Regions from separate parts of the Homo sapiens genome. Here region 2 is linked to region 1. Evidence: promoter capture Hi-C in human tissues and cell types (Jung and others, 2019). All regions are on one chromosome and are shown on one strand. Each heading gives the region's core, a stretch centred on a gene start or on the middle of the fragment in contact. The rest is flanking DNA. Distances are from core to core; before and after follow the strand shown.

Region 1 (4,646 bases), core at 1,079-3,578:
GTTAGTGCATGCTCAGAGGATGTGACAAAGCCTTAAGTGGCTGAGACTTCAGCAACCGGCAGTAAACCCCGGGCCTGAGCTGCAACGTGGAGGATCCGTCTTATTACAGGAAGTATGTCCTCCTCTGCCTAACCACTGCTGGGCGGGTCCACTTTCACTCCCAGAGCAGGCCCCACCTTTCTCGGCCAGACGCCCAGAGCTCCATGCCCACCCAGACACTGCCGAGAGCCCAGGCGCAGACGTGGCTGTAAACTGGCTCCATGCTGCAGGGACCCTGCGGCCAGACTTGCATCTTTTCAGGGGACAGCTCTGGGCACTTCCACAGGAATCCATCTCCAAAAGACACCATTTCCTCTTCCCATTTCACAGAAGAGGAAACTCGAGGTCCAGAAAGGGAAGGTTGAGTGGCTTTTGCCTAGGGCCATAAAAGGAGTGAGGGGGAGGCCAGGGCAGGTCCCGTCCTCTTCAGCCAGAGCTCTATCCCAAGCAGCCTGCCTCTCCTCCGGTCTCTAGGCGTCCCCACCCTACCCCTCTTACCCAGGGGCCCAGAATTTCTTTCCTGGCCCAAGCTTGGGGGTCAGTAAGGAGCTGGGCTGGGATAACCCGTCTATTTGAACTGGAATTTGGCTCAGAATCCCTGGCTGCGCTCTGCCAACCCCAGCTGAGAAAATGCTCCCCCAAGACTTGTGGCTCAGTTGTACTGAGGATTGTGGAGGAGTCTGGAACGGGGAGTGCATGGAGGTTGGGAGTGTCAGGTGAGAAGCTCCCAGCACTCTGCAGGTTTGTGCTGTATCTTTCTGTGTTGGACCTGGCTGCGTAGAAGCAGGTCTTGTTCGCCAGTTCTTAGCAAGCACAGGTCTGAGTCCTACTAAGGGCTTTACATCTCTGTCTCATCTCTCCAATCCTCACCGCTGCCAGCAGAGACAAGAATCCAGTGACATCCCTTCTCCAGAGGCAGATAATCTCATCTCTTTCTTACAGATGAAGAAACTGAGGCTCTGGCCTTTATATGGACACCAACTCATGACTGCCCAGTGTCCACTCTAGGGCTCCCTGCCACTTCATGGTTCCAGTGACCCTTCCCTGGGCCTTGGCTACTCTTCCTGGCTCTAAAACTTCCCTTAGTGTCTCTTCCTTTCCCAGGCTCCTAAGTGTCCTGGAAATGCAGGTGGCTGCAGCACATGGCTACGGATGGTGGGAGGAAGAGGACCCTGGAACAGGAACGGGAGGTGGGAAGGGCATGCTCACCAGGCTCCCTTTTTTTCCCTCCCAGGGTGAGCGCAGGCCCTCCAGGACCCAAGGCCAAATTTGCTCTGGCCAGGCGACCAGTCGGCCGCCAGCCCCAGGCAAAGATCACGGGGAAGATCAAACATTAACTTCCAGCTGGGTCTGCGCTCTGGCCAGGACCCTCCGGTAGGGCTGTCAGCCCTGCTCCCAACCTCCCGCCGAGCCCGCTCCTCCCTCCGCCCTCGCCCTCGCTGCACAGGCCTCCAGCCCGGCCCCCTTCCCCCGCCCCGCGGGCCCCCGCACCTGTTCGGCCCCCGCCCGTCCGGGCCGCACCCCAAGGCCAAGGAAAGGGAAAATTGCCAAAAGAACCGCTCCTGACGCACCAAGCGGTGGGGTCGCAGGATCCACGGCCTTTTACTTCTCTCCCGCAGACCCACTCCGGGGTGCAGGGATGCAGCTCAGTACCCCCGTCAGCCCAAGTTTCTCTGCCACTTCTCGGGCCACCCGGATTTGCCCCCCGCCCCGCCCCCGCCATCGCCGCCGCTCCCCGGGCTTTGCACACGCCAAGCCCTGGGACTCCCAAAGTCCTTTCCCACGTCCAGCTCTCTTCGCCCGCTTTCCTGGGCCCTGCACTAGCTGCCCAGGGTGAACCCTACACGTCCAAAGGGACGTGCACAAGTCGCGCCTCCGGGACCCGCACGATCCCCCTGGCGTCCTGGGCCACGCACACGCCCACCTCGAGGTGCTCAGCAAGGGTCCCCAAGGGGCCTTGGGCCCTGCACCAGCCGCTCCTCCCTCGGGTCCCCGAGTCCCGTACGCGCCCCCATGGCGCCCCGCCAGTACGTCCCCACCCCGGAATCCGGGGCTTGCCCGCGCCTCCCGGGGGCGGGGGCCGTGGCCCAAACTCTGCAGCCTCACCGTGTTCTTCCTGGCCACCATCTTCTCCAGCTTTTTGGCGATCCTCAGCAGCTCCTCTTCCTGGCCCATGTTGGCCCGCGACGCCCGGCGGGGCGAGGGGCACAGGGGCAGCAGTAGGGCCTCGGGGGCAGGAGGCGCGAAGGCGGAGGGCGCGCAACCCGCGCGGGCCCCAAACACACACGACACACACGCCCGGCGGGGGCGGGGCTCTCCCCACCCCCACCCCCCCACCGCCCGCCTCCCAACTGTGCGGGGGAGGGGTGGCGGGCACTAAATATAGACTTCAAGGACTTGCCCGGGCACTGATTGCCCGCGCCGGCCGATCGGGCCTCAGGGGAGGGACGAGGCTGAGAGAGGGGACCCTCCAACTCCGGCCCTTCCAGGGGCGCCGGGGGACCGAAGAGAGATTTGGGAAGGAGGGCTCTCTGGCGAGCTGGGAGGCTGTGACCTGGCCACAGGCGGCGGTCGCGGCGCGGAGGGCGCCCGAGGGTGTCCCAGGGGCCCTGGGAAGCGTTCTGGGCTCCCGCGTCTCTGCACCGTTGCATCTCAAAGCGGGAGGACACAGTTCCGCGCCTATGCCCAAGTGGAGGCAACTCGGTGCGCTCGAATCCCGTGTGTGTGTGTGTGTGTGTGTGTGTGTGTGTGTGTGTGTGTGTGTGTAGATCACTAAATCCAGCTCTGCTTTAACCTGCACTCACTCCATCGTGCACACGGCCTGTGCATGCCACGTGTATCCAGGCTCCTGTTTGCCTCTGTCTACCTAAAACTTCCTTTGCTGGCTGTTTTGTTAGTAAGGCTTTGCATTTTTAACAAGCTCCTATGTGCTGGGGGTGCTGCTGGTCCCAGAACTACACTCTCGAGTAGTGAGAGCTTATCGGGGAGATTCTTTTTATTTTTTTGAGACAGGGTCTCCCTCTGTGGCTGAGGCCAGAGTGGAGTGGAGCAATCAGGCTCACTGCCTCGACTTCCCCAGCTCAAGTGATCCTTTCTGCCTCAGCCTCCTGAGTAGCTAGGACTACAGGCGTGAGCCATCCATCATGCCCAGCTAATTTTTTAATTTTTTGTAAAGACTAGGTCTTACTACGTTGCCCAGGCTGGTCTGGAACTCCTGGTCTCAAGCGATCCGCCTGCCTTGGCCTCCCAAAGTGCTGTAATTACAGATGAGATTCTTTTTTTTTTTTTTTGAGACGCAGTCTCGCACTGTCGCCCAGGCTGGAGTGCAGTGCCACGATCTCGGCTCACTGCAAGCTCTGCCTCCCGGGTTCACACCATTCTCCTGCCTCAGCCTCCTGAGTAGCTGGGACTACAGGCGCCCGCCACCACGCCCGGCCAATTTTTTTGTATTTTTAGTAGAGATGGGGTTTCACCATGTTATCCGGAATAGTCTCGATCTCCTGACCCCGTGATCTGCCTGCCTCGGCCTCCCAAAGTGCTGGGATTACAGGCGTGAGCCACCGCACCCCGCCGAGATTCATTCTTAAGTGCACCAAATTTTGAGAAATATTGATCCAGGTGCAAGGCTGCCAGGTCAGGCCAGTATCCCCTCAGTGGGGTTGGGTTTGGAAGTCATCTTAGTGGAGGGGTGGAAACACAATTGTGCCTATCTTCCCCAGCCATGCAGGGATCTGCCTTCCTGTGGAATGATCTCCAATGATCTTCAAGTATCTCCTGCAGACCCAGTTCTCTTGCTAAATAAGTGAGTTTAATGGACAGAAAATGATCTTCCTGTGATGGGGGTGGGGCTCAGGAACCTGGAGGGAAGGCATGAAAAGTGGTCCACAGTGTGTGGGAGCTGGGGTTGGGGTGTCGAGTGAAATCTCCTGATTTTCCTGAGAGAACCGCATTTCAGCTTGGGTCGCAGAGGCAGCTTGGTGTGGACACCTATCTTCTAATTGCTATGTGACGGGGATCAAGGTAGGACAGAGTGGGTTTTTTTCATCCATTCAACAAATACGTATTGAGTGTCCAAGCAATGAACAAGACAGACCCAGTCCCAGAAAGCTTGAGACTCAGTCTATGGGCAAGAGAAACCTTAAACAAAAACAGACATAGTCAATTAATGCATTTATCATAGCTGGGGTGAAGGGCAGGAAGCAGTGGAGGATAGCTTAAGGACACATTTGAGGGGACCTGCACTATTTAGGGTGTCAACTTCTCTGAAGAAACGAAGTTTAAACTTTGGGCTGAAGTACACAGTGGCCGTTGAGGGGAGGAGGAAGAGTGTTCACGGAAGAAAGGAAGAGGCATTCAACATATATTTATGGAGCACCTAATATGTGCCAGGTAGTTCTTGTTCTGGACATCCAGAGAGGAACAAAACAGTCCTCCCCTCTTGGAGTTCCAAATGTGCAAAGCTTAGGGATGGGAGGGTGCCTGGCCTGCCTGACAGTGTTGGAGGAACTGAAAAATTGGCGTGGCTGCAGCACAGAGGTGAGGAGTGTGGGGAGAGGCAGTGGGTGGGACCTGAGCATGCAGTGCCTGCCGGTCACATTTGGGAAGTT
Region 2 (5,194 bases), core at 2,085-4,584, 89 kb before region 1:
AAAGAATTGCTTCTTTGTTCAAGTATGGACTAACATACTCAATCTTTTATCTGATTCCACATCCTTCCCTTGTGCAATCCACGCCCATCAATAATATCTCTCCATAAATACTAAGTCCCTTCTGAGTGATAGGTGAGGCAAGGGAGAGGACAAGCACAGTTCTAAATTATTGATATTAAAAAAAAAAAAACTTGGCCAGGCGCGGTGGCTCACGCCTGTAATCCCAGCACTTTGGGAAGTCAAGGCAGGTGGATCACCTGAGGTCATGAGTTCAAGACCAGCCTGACCAACATGGTGAAATCCTCTTTAGTAAATACAAAAAATTAGCCAGGTGTGGTGGTGCATGCCAGTAATCCCAGTTACTTGGGAGGCTGAGGCAGGAGAATCGCTTGAACTTAGGAGGTGGAGGTTGCAGTGAGCCGAGATTGCACCATTGCACTCCAGCCTAGGCAACAAGAGCAAAAATTCCATCTCAAAAAAAAAAAAACAAAACCAAACCAAAAAAAAAACAAAACAAAAACAAAAAAACTTGGTTGGGCACTGTGGCTCATGCCTGTAATCCCAGCACTTTGGGAAGCCAAGGCCAGCAGTTCAAGACCAGCCTGGGCAACACAGTGAGACCTGGTCTCTACAGAAACAAAAACAATCCCCAAAAAGCAAAAACCAAAAAAAGCAGCCGGGTGTGGAGGCTAACGCCTGTAATCCCAGCACTTTGGGAGACCAAGGTGGGTGGATAACTTGAGGTCAGGAGTTCGAGACCAGCCTGACCAACATGGTGAAACCCCGTCTCCACTAAAATACAAAATTAGCCAGGTGTGGTGGCACGCACCTGTAATCCCAGCTACTCAGGAGGCTGAGGCAGGAGAATCACTTGAACCCAGGAGGCCGAGGTTGCAGTTTGCTGAGACCGTGTCACTGCACTCCAGCCTGGACAACAAGAGCGAAACTCCATCTCAGGGGAGGGGAAAAAAAAAGACAGAATAAAGCAATTGCGTCTTCCAAATAACTTTACTCCAAGTATCTAAAATGGTGTGCTGCTAGTAGCATGGTTTTAGCAACCTGTTCCAAAAACTCTATATTATATTCCTATATAAAGTGTTCGGGTATCTACCAGTCACAAGATTATCCATCCTCATGATGGCAGCAAAATACAAATGGATATCTAAAAACTAACAACAGCTACACTTTGAAAGGGATCAAGAATTTTCCCCCGTCTGTACAGTATCTGCATAGTAGATAAAACACTTTCCAAACTGGAAAGATCTTGGTAAACTGCTAAAGAACACTTACCTCCGTTCCAATTCCAGGTTGCACGCCAGAGTACACACTGTCTGGTGGAGGACCACCATACTTCCTCTGTCCTGTGGTTACATCCAGAGTATAACCAGTTCTCTCAAGCAAGGCCTAGAGATAATTATACATCTCTTTATACTTGAGTACTAAATCTCACACACAAGCATCAGTGTATTAATCTTTTCCAAAAAGGACTCCAACTTCCTAGGAGATATATTTTTATGGTTAGGTAAAAAAAAAAGTCAAAATTCGCACTGGTTCCCCATACATGTTTCTACTGGTGAGTCTTTTCAAATAAAATGTTCTCTATCCTTAAAAAAATTAGCACAAGTCTTACCTCCTTCATGCAGCTTCTCTCATTTACTATTACTCACATCCATTTCTCCCTACTGTCTTTTCTTCTTTTTTTTTGAGATGGAGTCTTGCTCTGTTGCCCAGGCTGGAGTGCAGTGGCATCGTCTCGGCTCACTGCAACCTCTGCCTCCCGGGTCTAAGAGATTCTCTTGTCTCAGCCTCCCAAGTAGCTGGGATTACAGGCATGTGCCACCACGCCCAGCTAATTTTTGTATTTTTAGTAGAGATGGGGTTTCACCATGTTGGCCAGGCTGGTCAGGAACTCCTGGCCTCATGAGATCCGCCTGTCTTGGCCTCCCAAAGTGCTAGGAGTACAGGTGTGAGCCACTGTGCCCAGCCCCCACTGTCTTTCTAGTGTACTTTTTTTTTTTTTTTTTTTTGAGACGGAGTCTCGCTGTGTCACCCAGGCTGGAGTGCAGTAGCGCGATCTCGGCTCACTGCAAGCTCCGCCTCCCAGGTTCACGCCCTTTTCCTGCCTCAGCCTCCCGAGCAGCTGGGACTACAGGCACCCGCCACAACGCCCGGCTAATTTTTTGTATTTTTAGTAAAGACAGGGTTTCACCGTGTTAGCCAGGATGGTCTCAATCTCCTGATCTCGTGATCCACCCGACTTGGCCTCCCAAAGTGCTGGGATTACAGGAATGAGCCACCATACCCAGCCTCTAGTGTACTTAAAGTTCCATCATTTAAGCTTGATTTTGTTTGATCCTTCTGGTTTGTACTCCTGCCATATCATAAGCTCCACAAGAATCAGGTAATCAGACAAGAATCATACAGTACAGACTAAAAATATTTGGCAATTACCAAATAAGTATAGTCAGGTTCCGAAAAATAAGTAAAATCTTGTGTTTCCTGATTACCAACCTTCCTTACATTCTATTAGGTATTAAGAGCAATCATAGAAAAGAAGATAATCTCCTTGCTCTCAGGAATTTATGTTATAATTGAGGCAACATCTATATAAAGAGCTTAGAGAAGAAAAGATACAATGGTAAACAAAGAAACACAATCTACCTAGAAAAGAGAAATTTACACTTCAGTTTTTTTGGTTTTTTTTTTTTGAGACGGAGTCTCGCTCTGTCGCTCAGGCTGGAGTGCAGTGGCGCGATCTTGGCTCACTGCAAGCTCCGCCTCCCGGGTTCACGCCATTCTCCTGCCTCAGCCTCCCAAGTAGCTGGGACTACAGGCGCCTGCCACCACACCCGGCTAATTTTTTGTATTTTTAGTAGACAGGTGGCCTCACCGTTGTTAGCCAGGATGGTCTCGATCTCCTGACCTCGTGATCCACCCGCCTCAGCCTCCCAAAGTGCTGGGATTACAGGCGTGAGCCACAGAGCCCAGCCAGGTTTTTAAAATTACACAATGTCAGAACAATAAGAGACTTTAGATATCATCAAGTTCAGTGAACACTAGGATTTCACAGGGATGCATGCCTTCGGCCTTCCATTCTTCTACCTTTGACTGAAACAGAGCCATAAATGTAATATAAAACAGGGGTCCCCACACCCCTGGGCCACAGACCCGTACTGGTCCATGGCCTGTTAGGAACCGGGCTGCATAGCAGGAGGTAAATAGCGGGCAAGTGAGAACAAAGCTTCATCTGTATTTACAGCCGCTCCTCATCCTCCCTATCATTGGCATTACTGCCTGAGCTGTGAGCTCCACCTCCTGTCAGATCAGCAGCCGCATTAGGTTCTCACAGGAGGGTGAATCCTATTGTGAAGTGTGCATACAAGGGATCTAGGTTGCATGCTCCTTATGAGAATCTAATGCTTGAAGATCTGTCACCATCTACCAGTATGCCCAGATGGCACCATCTAGTTGCAGGAAAACAAGCTCAGGGATCCCACTGATTCTACATTATGGTGAGTTGTATAATTATTTCATTACATATTACAATGTAATAATAATAGAAATAACTTCAACATACAATAACTATTTCTAATTAAAAAGTCTATCACAGCCGGGCGCGGTGGCTCACGCCTGTAATCCCAGCACTTTGGGAGGCTGAGGCGGGCGGATCACGAGGTCAGGAGATCGAGACCATCCCGGCTAAAATGGTGAAACCCCGTCTCTACTAAAAATACAAAAAATTAGCCGGGCGTAGTGGCGGGCGCCTGTAGTCCCAGCTACTCGGGAGGCTGAGGGAGGAGAATGGCGTGAACCCGGGAGGCGGAGCTTGCAGTGAGCCGAGATCCCGCCACTGCACTCCAGCCTGGGCGACAGAGCGAGACTCCGTCTCAAAAAAAAAAAAAAAAGTCTATCACAGGCCGGATATGGTGGCTCACACCTGTAATCCCAGCACTTTGGGGAGGGTGAGGTAGGCAGATCCCCCAAGGTCAGGAGTTTGAGACCAGCCTGGCTAACACAGTGAAACCCCGACTCTACCAAAAAACAAAAAAAATTAGCAGCCAGGCACGGTGGCTCACGCCTGTAATCCCAGCACTTTGGGAGGCCGAGGCGGGCGGATCATGAGGTCAGGAGATTGAGACCATCCTGGCTAACATAGTGAAACCCTGTCTCTACTAAAAATACAAGAAAAAAAAAATTAGCCGGGCATGGTAGCAGGCACCTGTGGTCCCAGCTGCTCAGGAGGCTGAGGCAGGAGAATGGCGTGAACCCAGGAGGCAGACCTTGCAATGAGCTGAGATCGCGCCACTGCACTCCAGCCTGGGCGACAGAGGGAGACTCCGTCTCAAAAAAAAAAAAAAAAAAAAAAAAAAAAATTAGCTGGATGTGGTGGCGCACGCCTGTAGTCCCAGCTACTCAGGAGGCTGAGGCAGGAGAATCGCTTGAACCCAGGAGACAGAGGTTGAAGTGAGCTGAGATGAGCTGAGATGGCGCTACTGCACTCCAGCACTCCAGCCTGGGCCACAGAGTGAGACTCTGTCTCAAAAAAAAAAAAAAAAAAGAAAAGTATGTCACTACAGCAAGACACGAGTATCCATTTAACTAAGGAATTAGGTTCACTGGTCTTTCATTAAAAGCTGTATATTTACCTTTTCAAAGCTGTTTATCTAAGTAATAAAATGGTAATAATAATAATGGTTCATGGTTATATAGTTCTTGCTACATTCCAGGCATTATTCTAAGTGCTTTATATATGTTAATTCATTTACTCCTTACAATAACTCTGTAAGGTAGTCACTATTACTATCCCCATTTTATAAATAAAGAAACTGAGGTAACTGAATATTCAAAAGGAGGAAAGCAGTTATAACAACTTTTTATCAAGTTATAACCTTTTTATCAAGAGAAAAGAAACAAAGTGGCTGGAAAATAACTGAACCAAGAGACATTACTGGATCAATCCAAGAAACTACCAGCGAAGCATCAATAAATATACGTCATTCATGGCCACAAAAGAGGGAATGAGGAAGAGTATGAATTAGGGCTTTTCATTAAACATGCAATTGAGTGTCGATCCCCAAAATTATCCTTCTTATGTAATTCCTCTAAATTATTTCATTTCTAAACACTAGTTTTGAAAAGTGAAACTTTCAGCTGGGCGTGGTGGCTCACGTCTGTAATCCCAGCACTTTGAAGG

What was found. Contacts are between HindIII fragments. The study calls those that stand out against the background at their distance.
Region 2: a contact is called between a fragment that was not itself captured here and the fragment with the promoter of TCEA3 in region 1, in 3 of the 25 tissues and cell types used here (H1 embryonic stem cells, IMR-90 fibroblasts and heart left ventricle).

What each region holds. Positions count from the first base shown.
Region 1 is chr1:23,422,420-23,427,065 of GRCh38, forward strand. It overlaps TCEA3 (transcription elongation factor A3), which reads right to left and starts at 2,329. Exons shown (of 11, transcript NM_003196.3): 1 at 2,146-2,329. The coding sequence starts at 2,214. LOC124903875 (a long non-coding RNA gene) reads left to right here and starts at 2,447. Exons shown (of 3, transcript XR_007065535.1): 1 at 2,447-2,742; 2 at 3,759-3,841. The HindIII fragment of the contact is 4,937 bases long and covers 1-4,322 here.
Region 2 is chr1:23,332,228-23,337,421 of GRCh38, forward strand. HNRNPR (heterogeneous nuclear ribonucleoprotein R) reads right to left here. Exons shown (of 11, transcript NM_005826.5): 5 at 1,291-1,404. Among named protein-coding and RNA genes, the nearest start is that of HNRNPR, 9.5 kb to the right of the region's middle. The HindIII fragment of the contact is 4,351 bases long and covers 1,160-5,194 here.